Linked DNA regions of Homo sapiens: all the other regions are linked to region 3. Evidence: promoter capture Hi-C in 16 types of primary human blood cells and fetal thymus (Javierre and others, 2016). All regions are on one chromosome and are shown on one strand. Each heading gives the region's core, a stretch centred on a gene start or on the middle of the fragment in contact. The rest is flanking DNA. Distances are from core to core; before and after follow the strand shown.

What was found. The method cuts DNA at HindIII sites, captures the fragments that hold promoters and counts their contacts. A CHiCAGO score of 5 or more calls a contact.
Region 1: a fragment that was not itself captured here is called in contact with the fragment with the promoter of LPP-AS1 in region 3 in 1 of 17 cell types (M2 macrophages); the score reaches 5.1 in M2 macrophages.
Region 2: a fragment that was not itself captured here is called in contact with the fragment with the promoter of LPP-AS1 in region 3 in 1 of 17 cell types (naive B cells); the score reaches 6.0 in naive B cells.

Annotation. Positions count from the first base shown.
Region 1 is chr3:188,957,549-188,960,248 of GRCh38, forward strand. No RefSeq gene overlaps it. Among named protein-coding and RNA genes, the nearest start is that of TPRG1-AS1, 11 kb to the left of the region's middle. RefSeq lists an enhancer at 1-136. The HindIII fragment of the contact is 1,303 bases long and covers 744-2,046 here.
Region 2 is chr3:188,297,373-188,300,072 of GRCh38, forward strand. All of the region lies in intron 2 of LPP (LIM domain containing preferred translocation partner in lipoma), which reads left to right. Among named protein-coding and RNA genes, the nearest start is that of FLJ42393, 120 kb to the left of the region's middle. The HindIII fragment of the contact is 252 bases long and covers 1,265-1,516 here.
Region 3 is chr3:188,567,154-188,569,945 of GRCh38, forward strand. LPP-AS1 (LPP antisense RNA 1) reads right to left here and starts at 1,513. Exons shown (of 2, transcript NR_046623.1): 1 at 1,222-1,513. The region is part of intron 6 of LPP (LIM domain containing preferred translocation partner in lipoma); the gene reads left to right. The HindIII fragment of the contact is 3,783 bases long and covers 76-2,792 here.

The sequences.
Region 1 (2,700 bases), core at 145-2,644, 390 kb after region 3:
CCCATTAATCAAATCTGATGCATACAAAGAACCAGCTGATTTTTTCCTCAAACCCGTTTATGCTACTTTTATTAGTAAATGCAATTATATAATTTAAATATTATGCAAATAGATGAAATATAAGTATAAAAATAAAGAGACTGTGTCCATAAAAATTAAATTGATTGCTTTGGAAAGGCTCAAGAGGGAAGAATTGCTGAAAAAATGATCTAAAATTAGTTTGTGGATGAGATAACTGTAGAAGAATAACACAAAGATTAAAATCCAGAATAATTGTGCAAGTTTCTAAGGTTTTTATCTGCTACAAAGAACAAAAGAAAAGAAAACAAAAACAAAAATACCTGAAACTTCAACTAATAGAGGATGCATGATGGGAGTGATTTATTCAAGAAAAATGAGATGGAGCTTCACAAATGGAAAATGTGCACTTAAAGAGAGGCCTTGGCTCTACCTACTGGCAAGTGAAAGTCTTAAGTTAAAATATATGTATTTATATGATTCCTAGCTTTAGCCAAAATTTCTGATTAGCTGACACTGAACTGTAATAGGTGAAAGTATTTCTTTAGTATTAAGATTCAGATATCAGAGTGAGATCCAGGAAAACTGGTTTACTTAATATCTCCTGAGTGCTAATCTCCTGAGGATTTGGTCTTTCAACAATTCCTGTAAGATCCGTTTTTATTTCCATAAGTCTCCTTTTTGCAGGCACTTTCCGCAGATCCTTTTCCCCTTGACAGTAAGTAAGCTTTGTCTCTGAACTAGGCCCCAAGAATTCAGCTTTCAAACCCTCTGTTAAATTAATGTTTGTTCACTTTAGCAATTCAGTAATAGTCACTCAGGATCTAGAACAAGATCCAATGTTTGATGTCTTAAGATTTGAACAGTGTAGGGCCATATGTGGACACTATCAATATTACATCTTGCTTTTTCAAAATGTAAAAGCCATAAACATGGACACACTCGTTGTAGCCTTGTCTTCTGGGGAATGCATGTTATAGAAATAATATGCTGTGCAAAGATGTTCATTGCAGCATTATGTGTAATAGCAAATACACTAGAAGCAACTTAAATATTTAGCAACAAGGTAATCATTTTATTGTGATATTTTAGCCAAATACACTAGAAGCAACTTAAATATTTAGCAACAAGGTAATCATTTTATTGTGATATTTTGGCCAAGTATCATTTGGTGGTTATTGCTCGTCACTCATGTAGTAATTACAATGACTCTGTTGGAATGAAGGAAAAAAGTCCAAAAAAATAAGAACAGGCCAGACTTTGTTTTTGGAATTAGAAATGAACCTTGAAAATTTCATAGTCAAATTCTGTAATTCTAAAATATAACTATTATCAATAAGGAAAATTGTTCATGATAGTATTTTAAGTGAAGAAAGAAAAATACAAAATGGAATGAACTTCACAATTACCAACTTTGTAAATAAAGGTATGAAATGTATGAACGGGGAAAGATTTAAGGCTTTACCTTTTGCTAATTTTTCTTTTCTGTTTTATTCTTTCGATGATTGTAAAACCCCACATTATGCAATAATTCACCAGTTTTTCAACACTGGCATCCTGGGAGGCCTTGAGGTGCCTGGGATTTGACTTAAAGTTGGCTAGAACCACAGGATCACCCCTCTAGAGGAGTGAGGATTAGGCAAGAGCTCACTCAATTATAGGTGGACTGGGTTGGAAAGTACCTTTGAGATCATTAAGATGAATTATACCACTTAAAAGCAATTTGATCTTGAATAAGTTACTTGTCTTTGCTAAACCTCAGTTTCCTTACCTGAAAAGTGGCATAATAAAAGTATCTGTGCCTGAGTTTTGTGGTGAGGTTTAAATGATATAAATGCAGTAGATGGCACAGAGTAAGCTCTCAGTACATGTTAGTTATTGATATCACAGAAGCCAGTGGTTGAGCCAGGGCCAGAATTCACTTTTTTCAACTTCCTTACTGGGGCTTTTTCTGTCACACTATGTCATAGATCTTTCATCTTTACCCAGACTAAAATCCTTTGCTTTCGTGAGCACCGGGTAAGAGAAAGCTTATTCCGATAATACTGAGGATACTGTGACTTTACATAACTCTTGTCTATCAGGTGACCAATAGCATACACTATAGTCAGAACTACCTGTTAAAATGGCCAGAGATATCATAAGGAAAGGGTGCCTACTGAACTGAAAGCATGCCTTAAATAAGACAGAACTGGGCTCAACTTCTACAACAGTGTATGTCCTGCTCGAGTTCTTATTCTGCATTTGTTTTTATGAGCCTCAGTTTTCTTATTGGATAAATGAAAATCATTCTTCTTATACGGATGAAATATGAGTTGCCACATGTAAAATGCAATGCAATTCAAAGTAGTGATTTTTAAAAATTATTTTATTAAAAAAGTTATATTGTATGTTTTATGTGCTAGGCATTATTCCAAGGGATTTATAACAATTAATTCATTGAATGGATTCCTTATAGCAATTCTATGAGGCAGGTACTATCATTATTGTTGCTTTACTCAGGGAGGCACAGGAATGTTGAGTAACTTATCCAACATCACAGAAGTTGTGAGTGGTGGAGCTGAGGTTTGAACCTAGACATTCTGGCCACAGAATCCATGCACAGCCCTCATGCTGCCTTATTATCACTGAAACAGCTTTGGCCTAAGAGAAACCAAAGTCAAATATAAATTCTAGAATCTG
Region 2 (2,700 bases), core at 141-2,640, 270 kb before region 3:
ATTCCAAGGGGTAAAGACATAAATTCCGTAATACTACAATAGATGGGAGGCTCTAATCAAGTAGATAAATTCTATTTTTGGAATTGTGAATAAAGCAGAAAAGATTCTTGGAAATCAGGAATTGAATAGATTGATGGTACAAATGAGAGACTATATGTTGCTTAAAGAAAACAAAAGATTGCCTATCAGGTTTTAAAATGTGAGTCAGTAGTTTATATAGTGATTCAAGCTGAACAGCTATCTTGGTTATTAACTAAAATCTTTTCTTTCCCCTTCCATTTTATATATGAAGAAACTATTAATACAAAAGTCATTATCAAAGGACACTGGGGCTAGGTTTCATTACCCAGCTTAATCCTTAATTTCATATTGAGCATTTCATATTGAAGTGAAACAATAAGGATATGTTTCTAGAGACTGATGAGACAACTGAATTGGACTTGGTTTTGACATTCAAAGGGATCAGGTAGAGGTACTTAGTTGAGCTCACTACTTCATTTTGGCAAAAGACATATGTCATAGAAATGTAGTAGCCATGATGGATTATGTATCTTTGAATTGGGAGCCTATGACAAATTTTCTCCAATGGGAAGTTTCTTCAGAGCCTATCATTGTTTCAACAATAATTAAAGTAATTTACAGAGAATGTGCTCATCTACTTTTACCTACTGTTATCTTTTTTCCAAGTTAATAAACTGAATATATTGTATAGATTGGTTGATAGCCTTCCTGAAATGAACATCCTTTGCAAACCTATCTCTCCAAACCCAAATCCTGCCCAAATTTCCCAATTGTGGTAGCAAGCCCAATGAGCTCCTGATACGATCCTAATAGGATCCTCTTCTCTGGAAATCCTCGACAGATCACACTTCTCTTTTCTTGGGAACAGCTTTCTGTTTCCTTGTCCAGAATGGATGCCGTTCTGTTATCCTGGTCACTCTCTGGGCCCCCTCCCTTTGTCCACCATGAGCACAGGCTACTGGCCACTGATCCTCCTGGGGGCACTAGCCTGGCTACCCCATTGCTTATTTTACCTTTGCTTCTCTTAAATACCATTGTTGGTGATTGCTCCACACAGCAATTGTTCTCACCTAAGTCTGTGGATAAGACTCACTTAGGGAGGTTTTACCAGAATTCAGCTCATCTCCCTAAATGTTTGGGTCTGGACTAGGGCACACACTTCTCGTGAGGCGCTTCTCATGAGTACCCCTTCTCAAACTTTACGGGTATCAATTTACTTATGGCCTGCAGTGCATAAAGTGAAAGCTTTCTGAAAAGACATTTAATCCATCGGTATGAGGATGAAAAAGACACACTCAGGGCATGAAAAGAGTGAGAAGGTCACAAAAAGGGTGTGGTCTCAGCTGGAGAGGAAGCTGAACAATCCTATAAAGGAACAAAAGCTCAGCGTCCTGACCATCTGTTTCTTTCTACCCCAGGCCCATTCCCATCATGAGTATTTATTCTGCCCAGTGTGGGATGGGTTCTGTTCTAGAAGTTTGCATGAGCAGAGGGAAGCTTAGCCCCATGAGGCCAGTCATGAGGCTCCATCTTATTCTATAGGCTTCAGCCTTTTTATGAAGACCTAGCTTCTACTCTTGCCCCAGGCCCTAAGCAGGCCCAGACTTTTCCCATATACACACACTCTCTCTCTAACTTATGTGTCTTACATCTTAATAAGGCAGCAGATTGTATCAGAATCAGTTAACTCTTTATCAAAAAACCCAGAGCAGACAGACGGGTGAACTTGCTCATGGGCTGAGCTAGAAGGGAGGCCACTTTTCCTTCACACAGCCTCGGACTCTCCCTGGGCTTTTTTGTGTGTGCTGCGTGGAGACTGTGTTCTAACATTTCAGTCATATCTTCCTTATTTTAAAACTACAGAATTGATCTTACCAACTTACTGGGGAGCACGTCGTCAGTAAATTCTAATGGAAAAACCTGTCTGATCAATGGGACAGGAAAGCGTCACAGCAATACCGGTGAGTCATTCCAAGACCAGGCACATTTGAGCTGTGTTGCTTCTTCGATGCTGACTATAATTCTCCCTCAGCATTACGTCGTCTTAAGCAGCTTTTGAATCTTCGTCTCTGATTCCCTTTCTAGGTCAGACTGTGTCTTTTTTTAAAATTGTGCCTGGATATCCCCTTAATAGGTTGGACAAGTCCCGTTAGGATAATTGGCTGTATGAATATGCGAAAATAGCAACAGTGAATTTTAAAGTTCTTGAATAGTCTCCCCGTCCCACTGTGAGGTGAGGCATCTGGGGTGGGCTATCTGTTTTTTGATTCTTGGTTCTTGTTTTTAAAAAAATAGGATGTTGGACCTTGGGATGAGAGGGAAGTAAAACAGTTTTGGAACCCTTTTAGAAAGCAAACTAAGACAAAACTCCTTTCTTGAGAAAAATGGATGGACATTGTAAAGAAGACAGTAGGGCACCAGGAAGCCTTGAGCCAGGTCTGCCTGTGTCACATTTCGAGTTATGAGCTTCACCGCTCTGCTGTCTGTCTCTGGAGATCATCATCAAACCCCTTTCTCTGAGTTGTTGAATGGCTCAGATGAGTTAATGCCTATGAAAGTACTCTGTAAACAGAAAAATACCTTCCTATTTGTAATCTCAACAAAGGGACTTTTATCATCCCTAAAACAGAACAGACATTTCTTTTTCAATTATGAAAGTTACATAGACTCTTTTTAAAA
Region 3 (2,792 bases), core at 263-2,762:
TTAGCATTTTATGGGCTTCTGAGAGATGACGCTGTAAAACTTTTTGAGTCTCTGTTAAACTTTTCTCGTCATTAAAGCTTTTATGTAACCTTGAACAAGTTCCTTAACCTCTCTGCGCCTCAACTTCCACATCATTAAAATGGGGATGATAATAGGACCCATCTCATAGGATTGTTAGGACTATTAAATGTATTATACTCTATTACTTGTATCCTATAAAATATCTTTCTCACAGTTTAATTTCTTGAAAATTGAAACACATCCTATGATTGATGTGGTAAGAAACCATTGTAACACATATTAAGTGACACCTGTTGGTTCTTTGTTAGTAGGTTAGTAGGGAAAAAAAAAGATGCAGTTTATAGTCAAAGCCGTGTGTAAAGTGTGTCTAAAGTGCTTAAAACAAAGCCTGTCATACAGTTGGTCTTATAGAATGATGCTGTTATCATCATTGCCTGAATACCATATTTGTGGTATGTAAAATATTTGTCTCCAATTTCACTGGCTTCTGTCCTATGAAGCAGATATACTTATAGTTCCTGGTCTTTGAGTAAATAGAGCCTAGAAGGATTATCAGATATTACACAACTGCCAAATAATGACTTACATCAAACCAAGAGTTTATTCCTCTTCTCATGCATATCAACACCTGTTTAATCTGATCATGTTTTCAAAAACCCACTAGTGATCTATTTATTTCTAGCTATAGCTTTCATCACCTGTATTTGGTGATTTGTTGCTGGCAGAGTCCATACTCATAACACTAAATCTGACTACTGTGATTACAACAGTCTTTCTAAGTTAGATACCACTAATGATATTGATTAGGGAGAAGGCATTCTTTGTGATCCTATTTGCACGATCTCGGGTAATTCACTTACTGGACCCAATTGTTAGTTGTGAAATGTGAATGTTGAAAGCAGTGAATCTTCCAGCTGCTTGATTTGTGATATCACTATCAATTTACCTACTGAGGAGCTTCATATAAATTGGTCATTTGTAGAAAGTAGTTCAGTGGCTGAGAATCTGGCATAATATTTTATTTTTATGAAATTTCAGTAAACATTATTGAGCAACTTGTAGGTTTCAGGCTCCACGATAGGGATGCAAGCATGTAAGACCTCTGTCCAGCAACTGAGAGGTAAAACTACAATGAGAAAGATAGACTGGTAATTCAGATTTATTTTTAAATAATAGCTTTTTGAGATATAATATACTTACCCTTCAATCCACTGACTCTGGTTTTAAAGGAGATGATTAATACATTCACTCAACCGATATTGAGCATCTGATATGTGCCAGAGACTTCCTATGTGCTAGGGTTATGGAGATTGACAATAGTTATACAAAACTGAGCCTGTCACAAAATGTGTATCGACAGACAGTCTTCCATTTGGTGCTATAGACCAGTACTCAGGGTCAGCAGAGGGTACTCTGGAAGCATATTCAGGGACAAAGCAAACCTAGTCTTGGAAGATCTGAGGAAGTTTCCTATGATCATGTCTGTCTCCTGCCATAACACCCTGAATGCATCCGATCTGAACTAAACTGAGGTCTGACAAACTTGTAGGAGTTTGCGAGGTGAGTGGCTTGGGGAAAGTAGAGAGGAAGAAGTTTTTCTGGAAGAGAAAAGAAAATATGCTGTGGCTCTGAGGTGAATCACATATAATGCACAATAGCTTAGTATTGTGATAACATTTGGGACTGTGTGGGCAGACAGTGGCTGCAGGGCCTGAAGGGTGGAGAGGGGGAACTTACGCTTCAGTAGGGGTGTATATGTCTTATTATGAGGTCACAATGAAGATTGAGGTCAGCTAGAGGATGTGACATTCGAGTTGGGTCACAAAGGATGTACAGGAGTTTTTCAAGGCTGACCACAGTCTAGGCAGAAGAAATTGCAATTGTGAAAGGAAGATTTGCGTGAAAGAATGGTGTTTTTGGCTGAGTGAGGAATTTGAAGTATCTGGAAAATGGAGTAAGTGGCACAGAGAAAGAAAACAGCCAAATAATAATAATAATAATAATAAATTGGTGAGGGTTCGGAGAGCCGCTTACAATTGGATTCGGTGCAATGCAATGACTTTATATGTTCTGTACCTTGTCCTTGTAGGCAGTTGCAGGCACTAGGGACAGGAGTCTGGGGGGAAGACAGGAGCATTGAAAGTTTGAGGAAAAAATGAGAAGCATGCTTTAGAAAGATAATCTGAATATACTTGAATTGGAGGGGCCCTGGATTGTGAATGAAAATTAGAAGTATGTCATCTGTATTGTGTAGGATAGTGCTTATCTACAAAGAATTTTATGTAGAATTCCCCATCAGATTAACCCTTTGCAGCAATAGCCAATTATTTCTGATATTAAAAATTATAATTAAATAAAAGATATGGATTGGTAACTAAACATTTATTGAGAAGTTACTGTATCACTTCCACAAATCAATTCACTTATTTTTCTTAGTAATCCAATGATGTAGCCTGTCATTTCTCCCATTTTTCAGCAGAGGAAATTGTGGCCCAGAAGGTTGTATGTAACTCATCGAGGCACTAAGTGGCAGAGGTCATGTTTCAGCCTCGGCCATCTGGCTCCAAAGCCTAAATGTATGAATTGGCCACTAAAGGCACAACTGAAAATACTAACAGTCCCTGTGTTAGTGAAGAGGGATATTTGGCAAAAAGTTTTTATTTTGCTTTTTTACAATTCAGTGATTTGTAATTTATTTACAGAGTCATGCAATCATTACCTCAATTTAATTTTAGAACATTTAAAAAGTCCATGCTCATTTGCTTCCCATT